2 separate regions of the Homo sapiens genome follow, and region 2 is linked to region 1. The links are contacts of gene promoters, found by promoter capture Hi-C in blood cells and fetal thymus (Javierre and others, 2016). All regions are on one chromosome and are shown on one strand. The core of a region is centred on a gene start or on the middle of the fragment in contact, and the rest is flanking DNA. Distances in the headings are between cores, read along the strand shown. Region 1 holds the start of TMEM94 (transmembrane protein 94). Region 2 overlaps ITGB4 (integrin subunit beta 4).

Evidence for each region. Contacts are between HindIII fragments. The CHiCAGO score rates a contact against its expected background, and 5 or more counts as called.
Region 2: a fragment that was not itself captured here is called in contact with the fragment with the promoter of TMEM94 in region 1 in 7 of 17 cell types (endothelial precursors, naive CD4 T cells, M2 macrophages and 4 more); the score reaches 6.6 in endothelial precursors.

Annotation. Positions count from the first base shown.
Region 1 is chr17:75,453,222-75,461,023 of GRCh38, reverse strand. It overlaps TMEM94 (transmembrane protein 94), which reads right to left and starts at 4,389. Exons shown (of 32, transcript NM_014738.6): 1 at 4,273-4,389. RefSeq lists silencers at 1,090-1,139, 4,333-4,492 and enhancers at 4,643-4,692, 7,622-7,802. The HindIII fragment of the contact is 5,875 bases long and covers 1,001-6,875 here.
Region 2 is chr17:75,743,479-75,751,280 of GRCh38, reverse strand. ITGB4 (integrin subunit beta 4) reads right to left here. Exons shown (of 40, transcript NM_000213.5): 26 at 7,420-7,568; 27 at 2,236-2,440; 28 at 1,013-1,170; 29 at 421-601; 30 at 170-307. Among named protein-coding and RNA genes, the nearest start is that of GALK1, 18 kb to the left of the region's middle. The HindIII fragment of the contact is 2,980 bases long and covers 1,352-4,331 here.

The sequences.
Region 1 (7,802 bases), core at 3,140-5,639:
AGACAGAAAGTAGAAAGATGGTTGCCGGGGGTGGGAGCAGGGGGGAAATGGGGAGTTAAATGTTTAATGGTGACAGAGTTTCAGTTTGGGAAACTAAGAAAGTTCTGGAGATGGATAGTGATGAGGGTTGCACAACAATGCAAATGTACTTAATGCCACAGAACTGGTTACAATGGAAAATGTTATACTATGTATTTTTTTCCTTAATTTTAAAAATCGGCAACTTCTGGCCACCTGTAATTCCAGCACTTTGGGAGGCCGAGGCAGGCAGATCCCTTGAGCACAGGAGTTTGAGACCAGCCTGGGCAACAGGGCAAGAACCGTCTCTGTAAAAAATACAAAAATTAGCCAGGTGTGGTGGCATGTGCCTGTGGTCCCAGCTACTCAGGGGGTAAGGTGGAAGGATCACCTGAGCCCAGAAGATCAAGGCTGCCGTAAGCCGTAATCACACCACTGCACTCCAACATGGGCTACAGAGCAAGTTCTGTCTCAAAAAAAAAAAAAAAAATCAGCAGCTCCTGATTCTGATTTTGCAATAGGCTCTGCCTTATAGCTAAGCAACATTCCCTACTTGGCTTTCACGTCAACATAATGAAGGTTTACGCTCTTTCAGTACACCTGAGTCTTTGTCCAGCATACATCTTTTTTAAGTGTTTCCCAGTATTTTTCTATTCACCTCCCTACCAAGCAAGACTGGTACCATGAACCCCTTTTTCAAGAAGCCCTTGAAGTTATGAAAATTGGGTTCATTTAATTATAGTACACTAAAATTTATGGTTCCTCAAATACCACTCTAAGCCTTTCAAGGTTCTTCTCTCTGACACCCCTCACCCCTCTCCCATCACTTCTGGCCTTGGGAGCTAGAGAAACCCAAAGCAAGCAGTGTGTGGTTTGCTCCTCCTTACGCAGGCCATCAGTGTCTAAATCTGGCCCTTAACCTACTTGTCATGCCATGTGACCCATACTGTTTACTACCGTCTCAGTGGCCACAGGCAAAGCTTATTATTACACAAACCCCTGATCACCAAACCACACATTCTGGCTGGCGGGTCTGCTCGGAAGAAAAGCATTCCTGTTTCAGCCATGGCCTACCCTCTAGTTCACCTGTGCTGCTATAAACAAACCCAGGCCTGCTTGGAAACGGGCTTTAAACAATATTTTTAAATCCTATCATTTGGGTAAAGAAAGACACCATCGTAAAAACAACACTAACACAATAGTAAGATAAGAAATATTGACACATATTTACCAACCAGTGCCACGCCTGACCCAGAACCTTCTCACTTGAACACCAGGAATGGACTTAAAGGCTTTATGGCGTTCAGGCTTAGACTGCTAAGGTACGAGTTCAACCTGATTCATCAGATTAAGCTAAATACATACAGCCTTGGGTGTAGGTGGTATTTACATTAGGACTCCTCCCTCTCCTATAGAAACTGTTTCTCAAGCCCAACTTAGGGAGAGAGCAGCAGGCAGGAACAGGACGATCACAACCTTCATTTCTCATTAGTTTCTACAGGAGTTAAGGTTTCCAAAAGGCTGGTTCTCAGCACTAGGAGCTGGCACACCTAGCAACTTCTCAAAATAGAAATGCCATGGGGTTTCTCTTCCATTTCACTGTCAAGGCCTGGCTCTCCCAGTCTCATCTGATGTCAAGTCACCACAAACAAGGGGCATGGTGGTCTGGTGGTTCAAGGGCAGTTAACTCTCAATTATTTGGGGGCTGATGATGAAGAAGATGGTTTGTACTTCACCTCCCTGGTCATTGCACTACTCCACAGTATCCACCAGTTTCCCTGTTTGCAGTTTTGACAAAGAGAACCAGTGAGCAAGGAAGTTAGAGCTAACATAGCAGCTAAGACTTGCAATGTTTGAGGATTTTATCTGAACATGCTGTCTCCTGTTCTAGGGTTAACCACCATAGTCTACATTTTATTTGTTTTTGTTTTTTTTGTTTTTTTTTTTTTGAGACGGAGTCTCGCTGTGTCGCCCAGGCTGGAGTGCAGTGGCGCGATCTCGGCTCACTGCAAGCTCTGCCTCCCGGGTTCACGCCATTCTCCTGCCTCAGCCTCCCAAGTAGCTGGGACTACAGGCACCCGCCACAATACCCAGCTAATTTTTTGCATTTTTAGTAGAGATGGGGTTTCACCGTGTTAGCCAGGATGGTCTTGATCTCCTGACCTCGTGATCCGCCTGCCTCTGCCTCCCAAAGTGCTGGGATTACAGGCGTGAGCCACTGCGCCCGGCCAATAGTCTACATTTTAATGTGCTCTGATCTTTACAGTGATTTTCAAACTTTTTGATTCCATGACTCTTTTTTTTTTTTTTGGAGACAGAGTCTTGCTCTGTTGCCCAGGCTAGAGTGAGTGCAGTGGCATGATCACAGCTCACTGCAGCGTCGACCTTCTGGGCTCAAGCGATCCTCTGGCATCCACCTCCCAAGTAGCTGGGAACACAGGCACATGCCACCATGCCCAGCTAATTTTTTTGGTTTTCTTGTCAGTGTGTTGCCCAGGTTGATCTCAAACTCCTGGGCTCAAGCAGTCCTCCCACAGCAGCCTCCCAAAGTGCTGGGATTACAGGCATTACTTTGACTCTTTTGAACCTTACTAGTGCCATTGCTTTAAATTTTTTTATTTATTTGTATTCTTTTAGTTATGCCTCAGGATCTAACTTTTTTTTTAAACTACCTCTTCAGAATACCAAGATCAGCTCTTCTTTTGCCAAAAGTACTATAAAGAGATACCACAGTGCCATTTCTTCTCTCTTCAATGGCTCTCAATCTTTTTCTGCCTCCACGCTGTTCCTGTATGCAACGCGTTCCTGTTAATAACATCTCTAATGACACTGTAATGGTTCCCAAAAACCAAGGAAGAGGCATACCTTCCTCTTACTCTGCCTCTCGCTGCCCTGAGAATCACTAAAATAATTTACGCCCCCAATACAGACAGAGACTACAATGAATATTAATACAAGAAGTCTGCCAGAGAACTACCTGCTGGCTTCTTAAAATTACTGAATGCAAACCAGGTATGAAGACCCTAGTCATTGCCAGGAAGCATAGGAGGATCCTACTTTTAATGCCCATCGCTTTTAATGCCCAGAGCCACCCTGCAAGAGCTCAGGGGAGTCAGGGAACTTGATCTCCTCAGGTCACACCTAGGAAACAACTAGGTCTAGCGGATAAAGAACTCAAGCCCCTGGACTTTCGGATTCTAGTTTGGCTCTAGGTGACCCTGGCCTTGCCTCTCCGAACAATCTCCACATCTGCAAAATGAAAATGTTAAAACTGCCCCCTCCCTGCTTCCATCTTCCAAGATTACCTGCGGAATAACAACTATGTCACTAAAGCTGAGCGTCTTGGATAAATCATGAGAAAAAGATCCTTCTCTCCAATGCATACACCCACATAGCAGAAGGAAAACAGATTCCATAACGAGCTCCCTCCTTTTTTCCCTCAAGAGCCACCGAAAAACTCAGGAGAGAGGGTGGGATGTAGCAGCACGTGACCAAGGCAACGCCAAAGTTTAGCCCGCGGTGACACACCAATGAAAGAGCGGGGCTTTGCTTGCATCTGGCGCTGGGCAGCGGGCAGGGGCCGCATCGTGGCATGCTAGGAACCAGGAGACCTGGGCTCCAGGGGTGTGCGGTACAGGAACGAGGGCATTCCACAGGAGTCACTTTATCCGATGGCATGGATGGTGAGCTTCCGAGGAGCCTGAAAACGCTTCTGGAAAGGCGGAAAGAAAAAAAAGCCCGCTCCAAACTGCAAGATCAGGGATGGCTGCCAGGAGCCCCTCGGCCGGCTCCATCCAGCTGGGGACGGCCGCGCGAGGACCCCGGGCGGCTGCGGAGAGCGCGCGCAGGCGGGACAACGGTCTTTATTTAGGTCGGGGATGAGGACTCCCAGGGGCCTCGAAATAAATACTCAGGGCGTCGGCGTTGGGAGCCCTCTGGGCCAGGGCCTAGGCACGACAGACCTGGGGCAGGGATTCTTTGTTGGCGAGAGGCTTTATTTCTGGCGAGAGACCCCACAATGGACCAATCCAGGGCTGAGAGCAAGAGTCTGAAGACTCGGGGGAAGGCAATGGTCAAGAGCTGGAGACTAGAGCCAGTCCCTGGACTCCCCCTCAGGAGGCATCCCCTTAAGCCGTTCTCTGGGTGCAGACCCCAGACTCCCCTTTCCTTGGCCAAGAATCCAAAGGACGCGCAAGGCCGAGCCCCACGCCCCCTTGCTCCCCACTTTCGGGCCACGGGCCTTCTCGTACTTACCGGGGCCCCGGGGCTGGTCTTCCTCGCCCGCGTCCTCTCCCCTCCCAACCCCCTCCTCACTTCACGTCCCCTCCTCCGGGGGCCGCAGCCATGTCCGTTACTGGCAACTCTAAGGGGGCTTGCCTCCCTTCCGGGCAACAGAGGCGCCGGCCAGAGAGCTAAAGTTCAGGCCACCGATTGGTCAGGATTTGAGAATAGGGGGAATTCTGGCTTCTTATTGGCTACGCGGCGTGCTAGGCTGTAGCTGCAACCGCCCCTCTGGGAGCCTGGCGGAATTAGGTGCCGAGTGATGCGGCCGGGAGAGTGAAGAGCCACTGTCCTTTCCTGTGCGTAAAGCTCAGGCAGTTTCTAGTCCAGAAACCCTGACCAGAGGGCATGGCTTTACCTCCGATTCGTTTTCCTACAGAATTATTCTAAAAAGATAGACGGCGCGCCCCACCTTTTTTCCCTTTCTTTTTAAAATAAGCCCTTTGCAGAGCTCCCCGCCTCTCTTAAGTTCTTCTAAGCTCCCTCCTTGTTGCCTTGAACAAATGCCTAGAGGCTGCCCGCTCCGAGAGGCCTTGGAGGGACTCCCTCAGGACGAATATTGCGTCCAAACCAAATCTAGAAAATCTAAGGCAATACTGCAATTCCCCCCTCCCGCTTCCAGCTCGGCTGAAATCTAAAGGGAAAAACAAGTTAAATTTTTTTTCTAGGTAATTAGATAAATCGCCTGGGAGACCTCTCTTGGGAAAACAAAGCAAGCCTGTGTCAGTATTTACTTCTCTTTTCCCAGAGATCTAAGTCTGGAAGGCTTGTTTAAAAAAAACAAAAACAAAAAAACAAACAAAAACTTGTTTATATAATTGGGAAAGAGCTGAGGTTGGCCTTGTGAAGTAAGAGCCCCTTCCCACATTCATGAGTTTAATTACGTAATTAAAATCCCTTTCTCAGCTGGACAAGAAGATGGCATTTTAGTACCTAATCTTGTATGACCCAGTTTAGCTGTTGCCTAAAACGCCATAAGAATCATGTCACTAACCTGCACACAAAAACTGATAGTTCACCTTTGCAAATAGGTCCAAATCTTTCTGCCTGATGTTCAAAGTCCTTCATAAATTGACTCAGACATACGTTTCCAGGTCTAAGTCCCCACAGGCTAAACTATTCCTGCAGCCACATAGATTAACCACCATTCTTTAAACGTGACAGAGACCTTTCCACCTCTGCTCCTTCGTCACATGGTTGGTTCCCTACGCTTTGCTTTAAAGGTTCTTTTTTTCTTTTTTTTTTTGAGACGGAGTTTCGCTCTTGTCGCCTAGGCTGGAGGGCAATGGCTTGATCTCGGCTCACTGCAACCTTCACCTCCCGGGTTCAAGTGATTCTCTTGCCACGGCCTCCGGAGTAGCTGGGATTACAGGTGCCTGCCACCATACCCAGCTAATTTTTGTATTTTTAGTAGAGACAGGGTTTGAACATGTTGGCCAGGCTGGTCTCAAACTCCTGAGCTCAGGTGATCCACCTGCCTCGGCCTGCCAAAGTGCTGTGATTACAGGCGTGAGCCACCGCACCCAGCCTGACGGTTCTTTCTTATCAGTAAAGCCAGCATGCAAATAAATACTTAATCAACCTAAAGGCCCACCTCAAATGCTACCTTTCTTGACTTTTATTTTTTCTTGTATGTATGTACATATTTATTTATTTTTAGAGCAGGGTATCACTCTGTCACCCAGTCTGGCAAGTGCAGTGGTGCCATCATAGCTCACTGCAGCCTCGAACACCTGGGCTCAAGCAATCCTCCCACCTCAGCCTCCTGAGTAGCTAGGACTACAGGTGCGAACCACCACACCCAGCTAATTTTTTTATTTTTTATAGAGATGGGGTCTTGCTATGTTGCCCAGGTTAGTCTCAAACTCCTGGCCTCAAGCAATCCTCCTGCCTCAGCCTCCCAAAATGCTGGGATCGCAAGTGTGAGCCACCACTCCCAGCCTCTCCCTGGGTTTTAGTCATTGACTCTCTCTATATATAATGCTGGGCCTCCTTCTCTGTGTCTGCATTGCCACCTTTGCAAAAGTCTGCTTTATACAGCATTGCTCTTTTTGTAAGACCTCAAACTCCCTGCGGGCAGCTGGCTTATCTTAGCAGTTTCCACAGCACCTTACTTGCTGCCTTGTATCCATTAACATTTGTTGAATTGAGCTAGCAGGCTACCTATATATTACATCTTTCCACTTGACCCCTTAAGATCTAGTTGGCTGCCTTTGGAAGATTAACAAATGTAGCACAGTCACTTCACTTTGAACCTCTCAGCCCCCTCTGGCCACACTGGTTTTTCAGCTCCACTGGGTTTTATGAATATCACTCAATGAAATTGCACTGAATGCCTGCTAGTTTCAAGGGCTCTGCAACTCTCCATCTGCCTGACCACTTCCTCTGTCAGTCCCCTCAGCCATAAAATTTTGCTACATGAGTAAATCAAATCACTCAAGCCAGAACATGCCAATGTGCCCACTCTAAATTCACCCTGAATTAGCTTTGCAGATCTGAGGTCCCTTAACCAAGTCTTGTTGGTTGTCTAGCAACCCCAAGCAGCTATACCAATCCTTCTTCATTTTTCTGAAGCTTCCCGTGTCTTCAGATGAGTACCAAGATGAGTCTATTGAGAAGAAGACCAAGGCCTTCCCTTGGAGATTTCTCATCTACTTCATCCACTTCTCTTTCCCTTTCTATGTTCCTGCAGGAAGACAGCCTTTTCCTCCTTTTCCCCATCTGTGTTCTCAGTCCCTCCCCCTCCAGCCTTACATGCCATTTCCCTTAGCTCAGGAGTGTTCAATCTTTAGGCTTCCCTGGGCCATGTTGGAAGAAGAATTGTCTTGGGCCACACATAAACTACACTAACACTGCTGGGCACGGTGGCTCACGCCTGTAATCACAGCACTTTAGGGGGCTGAGGCGGGCAGATCATCTGAGGTCAGGAGTTCGAGACCAGCCCGGCCAATATGGTGAAACCCTGTTTCTACCAAAAAATACAAAAATTAGCAGGGCATGGTGGTGCATGCCTGTAGTCCCAGCTACTCGGGAGGCTGAGACAGGAGAATCACTTGAATCCAGGAGGCGGAGGTTGCAGTGAGCCAAGATCGCGCCACTGCACTGCAGCCTGGGTGACAGAGCAAGACTCCGTCTCACAAAAAAAAAAAAAAAAAAAAAAAGAAGAAGAAATGTGTTCAAGAGATAGTTAGCAGGTAGAACAGGCACAGTCTAGTGGCTGGACTTAAGGTTTAGGGTGAAGGAGGAAGGGATAACTCGATTTCTGCACCTCAGATCTCATATCATCTGAGTTACAATGACAGAAGCTACCTCTGCCAGCTCCAGATTACCTGGTCAAGGCCAATTTAGAGCATAGTACTGGACAAAGCATCAGCGAGAAAACACTCTTGTTTATCTATAAGATTTCCCTTCATCTAAACAGAGATATGAGAAGTGAGTCAGAAACGAGAGTGATCCAGCAGGACTCATTCAGGCTGTTGAGCCAGGAATGACGTGCAGAATCA
Region 2 (7,802 bases), core at 1,592-4,091, 290 kb before region 1:
TCTGGCCAAAACCCTAAAGATGCCTCAGGCTTATCCGCTGACCAGGATGAAGGCCTCGAGTGCCCTGCACAGCAGGTCCAGGGAGTGACCAAGAGCTCCCTCCAGCTTTGTCCCCTCCCCTTCCATGGCTGTTCTCCCTGTGGGCAGGAAAGAAGGATCTGGTTCTTACGGTTGTCATCGTTGACCAGGCCATAGCAGACCTCGTAGGCTGTGATCTCACCGTTGGTCTCAGCCGGCTCAGCCCAGCTCAGCTGGGTCACCGTGGAGGAGACGACATTGAAGGCCAGACGCCCTGGCTCGCTGGGCACTAGGGAGCGGGGAATACAGGAAGAGTGCTGTCAGTGGCAGAGGGAGGGAGGTCTGGGCATGCTGGCATCAGGGCAGCCAGGGGACAAATGGACAGACATGGCGAGGCCTCACCTTCCTGGTGGGTGCGGCAGGACACCAGGGAGCTGTAGGGTCCCTCGCCCTGAGCCCCGTAGGCGCACACCTTCATCTCATAGTCGCAATACGGGTACAGGTTGGTGAGCTCCACTGAGGGCACCTTGCTGTCGAGCAGGTGGGCTTCGGATTCGGAGTCACCCTGAATCCAGTACTTTACCTACCCCCAGGGACAGGGGTCCTGGTCAGCAGGGAGCAGCAGGCACCCAAGCTGCCTGTCCCTCCTCTGACCTCTGCCCTTACTGTCCTCTTTGCACAGATGAGGCCCGAGGGAGGGGCTGAGAGATCTGCCATGTGCACACGTCAGGACTAGGGCAGAGCAGGTGGGGGTATCTCCCATGCGGGGGTGGGAGGGGGCCCCATTCTAGGAAGGAGGGCAAATGTCTGATAAACTCAGGAATGGGTCTTCCCTCTTTCCCAGCACAGACCGGGTTTCCCTCTGACCACCTGTGCTAGGTTCCACTGTCTGCTCTCTCTCAGGGGGCCCTGGCCTTGGACGGCCCACCTCTTCTGTGAGTGCTGGTGCCAGACCGCCCATCCACCTGTCGTGACCCTCAGCCCCCCGCCTTACCCTGTACCCCATTGGCTTGCCAGAAGGGGGCAGCCAGTTGAAATGGATCTTCCTGGACCCAGCGGCCTTAGCATTGGGGTTCTGCGGGGCGCCCAGGTCGCCGTGAGGGGGTGGCTGTGATGACAACATCTGACTCGTGAAGCTCCGGTCCAGTTCATCTAACGGGTCAGGTTGGGGCCGGGCAACCACTCAGATCCCCCTTCACCACCAGGGGGCGCCAGAGACCCACTTCAACACCCAGGGCGCTCTACCCAGCGCATTCAACTCAGACCTGCCCACCCGCGTCTCTGGAGACCTGGTGGTGCCCCATTGCTGCCACATAGAGCATCCTGCCAAGCTTGGCGGAGGACCCAGGAGGGTCTCTGGAGGAACAGAAGCGGGAGGGAGTTGGTCTGCCCCTTTCTCCCTTGGCAGCTCAGGGAACATTCCACATGAGAACATTTGCTCCCCACCCCATCTCCACACTGTACCCTGAGTATCTCCCTCCTCTCCCATCTTCCTGGCAGGCTTTCTCCCAGTTGGGAGGCTGAGGGCTGATAGGAACTAACTGGCCCACTCCTTCCTTCCACAAGCATCTGCATGTTAGTTGGAATTGAGGCTGAAGCCAAAGGGCCAGGGTCTGATGGGAGAATTCCTATTGTGTGGTGACAACAGCCTCTCTAGCTGTAGGGTTGCCAGATAAAATGCAGGATGCCTAGTTACATTTGAATTTCAGATAAACAACAAGATTATTTTTTCTTGGGGGACAGGATCTCATTCCATGGCCCAGGTGCTGTGCAGTGGTGCGATCACAGCTTGCTGCGGCCCAGACCCCCTGGGCTCAAGTGATCCTCCCACCTCAGTCTCCGGAATAGCTGGGACTGCAGGTGCACACCACTATGCCAAGCTAATTTGTTTATTTTTTGTAGAGACGAGGTCTCACTATGTTGCCCAGGCTGGTCTAGAACTCCTGGGCTCAAGTGATCCTCCCACCTTGGCCTCCCAAAATGCTGGGATTACAGGTGTGAGCCAGTATACCCAGCCCATTTTGCAAAAAAAAGGATAAGTATGTTCCAAATATTGCATGGGACATACTTATCCTACCAACGTGTATGTTGTTTACCTGAAATTCAGATTTACCTGGGCGTCCTGTGTTTGGATTTGCTAAGTCTGACAGACCTAGTTGAGAGACCCCCCAGTCTTCCCTCTCCTCCTGCTTAAGCCGACCCCCAGGCTCTGCCTACCTGGGTCCCTGATGATGATGGTGGTGGAGTGGGGCTGGCCCAGGTGGGCCCCAAACTTAGGGTTGCTGAGCTGGACGTGGAAACGGCGGACCTGGCGGCCCCGCAGGAGGGAGTCAACTTCTTGCAGCTCCAGGAGCTTCACCTGCAGCTCTTTCCAGGCCTCCCCAGGCTGGAACAGCAGCTCACCCTCCACGGGGATGTAGTCCTGGGAGTGGAGGGGGTCAGGGTCAGGGTCATGGCTGGGGGCTGAGGCAAGAGTCATGGCCACACGCTCCCTCCCAACCTCATGGACACTGCAGAGACCATCCCTGCTTGCTGGGTGGAGTACTTACACGAGGTTCAGGTTTTTGTGTTTTTTTTGTTTGTTTTTTTTTTTGAGGCGTAATCTCACTCTGTCACCTAGGCTGGAGTGCAGTGGCATGATCTCGGCTTACTGCAACCTCCACCTTCCAGGTTCAAATGATTCTCACACCTCATCTTCCTGAGTAGCTGGGATTACAGGCACCTGCCACCACGCCTAGCTAATTTTTGTATTTTTAGTAGAGATGGGGTTTCACTATGTTGGCCAGGCTGGTCTCGAACTCCTGACTTCAAGTGATCCTCCCACCTTGGCCTCCCAAAGTGCTGGGATTACAGACATGAGCCACCATGCCCAGCCACGTTTCTGTTTGTTTGTTTGTTTTTGAGACAGGGTCTCACTCTGTCACCCAGGCTGGAGTGTAGGGGCACAATCACAGCTCACTGAAGCCTTGACCTCCTGGGCTCAGGCCATCCTTCCCCTCAGCCGCCTGAGTAGCTGGGACTACAGGCGTGCACCACACCTGGCTATTTTTTTTTTTTTTTTTTTTGTAGAGGCACGGTTACCCTATGTTGCCTAGGCTGGTCTTGAACTCCCGGCCTCAAGCGATCCGCCCACCTTGGCCTCCCAAAGTGCTGGGATTACAGGCGTGAGCCACCCATCTTCCTTTCAGTGCCGTGGAGCATGCCTGAGCTTTCCAGGATAAGAACTGGGAGGAAAAAGAAAATCCTTCACATAGAAGACCACTAGGTGGCACTTCAGGGCAAGATTTCAATTCCAGGCGCAGCAGCCAGGGCGATGGCTGGGGAGGCAACCTCATGCCACCCAACTCAGAAAGTGAGACCCATAGTTGTAAAACAAACAAACAAAAAACAAACCAGGGAGCTGCCTGCAAGCAACCTACATGGATACTTCAAAAACGTCAGTGTCATTAGCCCGGCATGGTGGCCGGTGCCTGTAATCCCAGCTACTCGGGAGGCTAAGGCAGGAGAATTGCTTGAACCCGGGAGGCAGAGGTTGCAGTGAGGCACTGTACTCCAGCCTGGGTGACAGAGCGAGACCTTGTCTTAACAAAAGTCAGTGTCACGGAAGACAAAGCCAGGAAACTTTTCTAGATTAAAGGAGTCAAGACACGTGACAAAAGTCAATGCCAAATCCTTGATTAGTTCCTGCATTGGGGGGAAAAACGCTATAAAGGACATTATTGGGACATCCGAACAAGGGGACATTGGAATATGGACCTATTTTATTTTATTTTATATATTTTTTGGGATGGAGTTTTGCTCTTTTGCCCAGACTGGAGTGAAGTGGCGCAATCTTGGCTCACTGCAACCTCCACCCACTGGGTTCAAATGATTCTCCTGCCTCAGCCTCCCTAGTAGCTGAGATTACAGGCGTGTGCCACCATGCCCGGCTAATTTTTGTATTTTTAGTAGAGATGGGGTTTCTCCATGTTGGTCAGGCTGGTGTCAAACTCCTGACTTCAGGTGATCCACCTGCCTCAGCCTCCCAAAGTGCTGGGATTACAGGTGTGAGCCACCACGCCTGGCTGGAATATGGACTAATTTTAGGTACTAGTATAATCAATGTGAAGATACAGATGTCCACATCTCTATTTATATTTCTATGTTGCTATCTATATAGAAAGAGAGAGAAAGCAAATATTAGCAATCGGTGAATCTATGTAAAGGGTAAATGGGTGCTAGTTTTACTGTTCCTTCCATTTTTCTGTAAGTTGAAGTTTTTAAAAATAAAAAGGTGAGAAATTAAAATGTTTTAAAAAACAAATATCAAAGCTTTTTTTTTTTTTTTTTTTTTGAGACAGGGGTTTCACTCTGTCACCCAGGCTGGAGTGCAGTGGCACTATCTCGGCTAACTGCAACCTCCACCTACTGGGCTCTACCTCAGCCTCCCGAGTAGCTGGGACCACAGGTGCACACCACAACACCCAGATAATTTTCTGTATTTTTGGTACAGACAGGGTTTCGCCATGTTGGCCAGGCTGGTCTTGAACTCCTGATCTCAAGCGATCTGCCCGCCCTGGCCTCCCAAAGTGCTGGGATTACAGGCATGAGCCACTGTACCCAGCCTCAAAGCATCTTTATACAAGTGTAACAGGGTAGCCAGAAGGCAAGGCAAAAGGATCATGTTATCCTAGGAGTTTGAGACCAGCCTGGGCAACATGGCGAAACCCTATCTCTACTAAAAATATAAAATGGCCGGGCGCGGTGGCTGATGCCTGTAATCCCAGCACTTTGGGAGGCTGAGGTGGGCGGATCACGAGGTCAGGAGTTCGAGACCAGCCTGACCAACATGGTGAAACCCCGTCTCTACTAAAAATACAAAATTTAGCTGGGTGTGGTGGTGCGCACCTGTAGTCCCTGTTACTTGGGAGGCTGAGGCAGGAGAATCGCTTGAACCCTGGAGGTGGAGGTTGCAGTAAGCTGAGATCGCGCCAGCCTGGGCAACAGAGTGAGACTCCGTCTCAAAGAAAAAAAAATACAAAATTAGCCGTGCGGTGGTGGACATCTGTAGTCCCAGCTACTTGGGAGGTTGAGGTTGAAGGACTGCTTGAGCCCAGGAGTTCAAGATTGCAGAGAGCTAGGACTGTGCCCCTGTACTCCACCCTGGACTAGAGGGAGACCTTGTCTCTTAAAAGAAAAAAATTATTCTTTGGAATTTTTATGGGGGGACATTGGAAAAATAATGAGAACAGTTCCTGTCAATAAAAAGAAGTAAATAAAATTAGGATGTGGCCAGGCAGCCCGGGCCTGCTGACTACGCGCTCCCCTATGTTTGCTGAATGGGCCTGTGGGCCCAGGGAGGCGAGACTTTATTACTTTTGAGATAATTTTTTTTTTCTTTTTTCGAGACAGAGTCTCACTCTGTCGCTCAAGCTGTAGTGCAGTGGCATGATCTCGGTTCACTGCAGCCTCCACCTCCTGGTTTCCAGCAATTCTCCTGCCTCGGCCTCCCGGGTAGCTGGGATTAGAGGCACGTGTCACCATGCCCAGCTAATTTTTGTATTTTTAGTAGAGACAGGGTTTCACCATGTTGGCCAGGCTGGTCTCGAACTCGTGACCTCAGGCGATCCACCTGCCTTGGCCTCCCACAGTGCTAGGATTACAGGCATACGCCACCTCGCCTGGCCTTTATTATTATTATTATTTTTTTAAAATAGAGACAGGGTCTTACTATGTTGCCCAAGCTGGCCTGCAACTCCTGGGCTCAAGTGATCCTCCCACTGTGCCCTCCCACAGTGTTGGGATTACATGCATGAGCTACTGCACTGAGCCAGGTTTTGTTTCTTTGTTTTTTTGTTTGATTTTTAAAAAATTAATTATTATTATTTTTTTAGACAGGGTCTTACTCTGTTGCCTAGGCTGAAGTACAGTGGCATGAACATGGCTCACTGTAGCCTCAACCTCCTGGCCTCAAGTGATCTTCCTGCCTCAGCCTTCCAAGTAGCTGGGTCCACAAGTATGCACTACCATGCCCAGCTAATGTTTAAATTATATGTATAGACATGGTCTCACCACGTTGCCTAGGCTGGTCTTGAACTCCTGGGTTTAAGTGATTCTCCCACCTTAGCCTCCCAAAGTGCTGGGATTACAGGTGTGAGCCACCATGCCCCGCCTTTGTTTTTAATTATGGATTTGTTGCCAACATTTAAAAACTAGAAAGGCCAGGTGCACTGGCTTACACCTGTAATCCCTGCACTTTGGGAAGCCGAGGTGGGCGGATCACTTGAGATCAGGAGTTTAAGACCAGCCTGGCCAACATGGCAAAACCCCATCTCTTCTAAAAATACAAAAACTAGGCCGGGCGTGGTAGCTCACTCCTGTAATCCCAGCACTTTGGGAGGCCGAGGTGGGTGGATCACTTGAGGTCAGGAGTTCAAGACCAGCTTGGGCAACATAGCAAGACCCTGTCTCCCCCAAAAATTAAGAAGCAAAAAATCCCCACACAAAACAAAAGAAACAAAACTATGAAGCCTGTAAACCCAGTCCAGCCTGTGTGCCACCTGATTTGGCTGTACCCCAGCACTGGGGCTCAGCAGTGAAGGTGATGCTGGTCCAGCCATGGCACTCCCTGCCTTGAAGGGTTGCTCCTGCTGCTTGGCAAATTGTGACAGCCCTTGGGGAGTCTGGCCTGGGGACATGGGGTCTTCGATCCCAGCTCAAGAAACCCAAAGCCCCCTGGACTGGGGCATATAGGGGGAGTTTATCTCCAAGAGGTTTGGCTACCCTGTGGATCCTGAGTTGTAGGAGGGGACAGGAATGGTCTGGGCAGGTCCCTGGCCCATGAAGGAAGAAAGAGCCCTCTTGGGCCGGGCGCGGTGGCTCACGCCTGTAATCCCAGCACTTTGGGAGGCCAAGGCGGGCGGATCACCTGAGGTCGGGAGTTCCAGACCAGCCTGACCAACATGGAGAAACCCCGTCTCTACTAAAAACACAAAATTAGACATGCGTGGTGGCACATGCCTGTAATCCCAGCTACTAGGGAGGCTGAGGCAGCAGAATCGCTTGAACCCGAGAGGTGGAGGTTGCGGTGAGCTGAGATTGTGCCATTGCACTCCAGCCTGGGCAACAAGAGCGAAACTCTGTCTCAAAAAAAAAAAAAAAAAAAAAAGAGCGAGCCCTCTTGGCCTGAGTCCCTGGCAGCAATGGAGCCTCATCCAGCGTGTCACTGGCACCCTGGGCAGGTGAGACTCCCCTGCCACAGGGTGGCAGGAGCAGGTGGACGTGTCCTTGGGAGGCCAGCCAGGGGCACGGCCAGTATCCAGGGACTCAAGCAGCTGCCATGTGCTGCTTTGTCTTGGGAACCCAATGCGGTGCCCACGCAGCCCCCCGGGCTGCACCCTCGACCCTGTGGCGCAGCCTCACCCGGTTGCCCTGCGCGGTGCCATCCTGTGTGCGGTAGGAGACCTGGGACTTCCCGCCGTCCAGGACACGCCGGATGACAGGGATGCGGGCCACCTGGTCCCCGCGGCTGACCGAGAACTCAGGCTGCTCAAAGGACACCACGTCTCTGGCTGCAAGGAGCCCGGGCATTTGTCAGAGTGTGCTGGGCCCAGTCCCTTCCCACCTCCTGCTCTCCTGTGACCCTGCCCAGCCCAGCCCAGAATCCAGGAGTCCGCTTGGTTCCCTCTATGCATTGCCCTCTGGGAAGGGCACAGGAGCGAAACGGAAAATCCTTCCAGAAAAAGATGAGGGGCCGGGCGCAGTGGCTTGTGCCTGTAATCCCAGCACTTTGGGAGGCTGAGGCA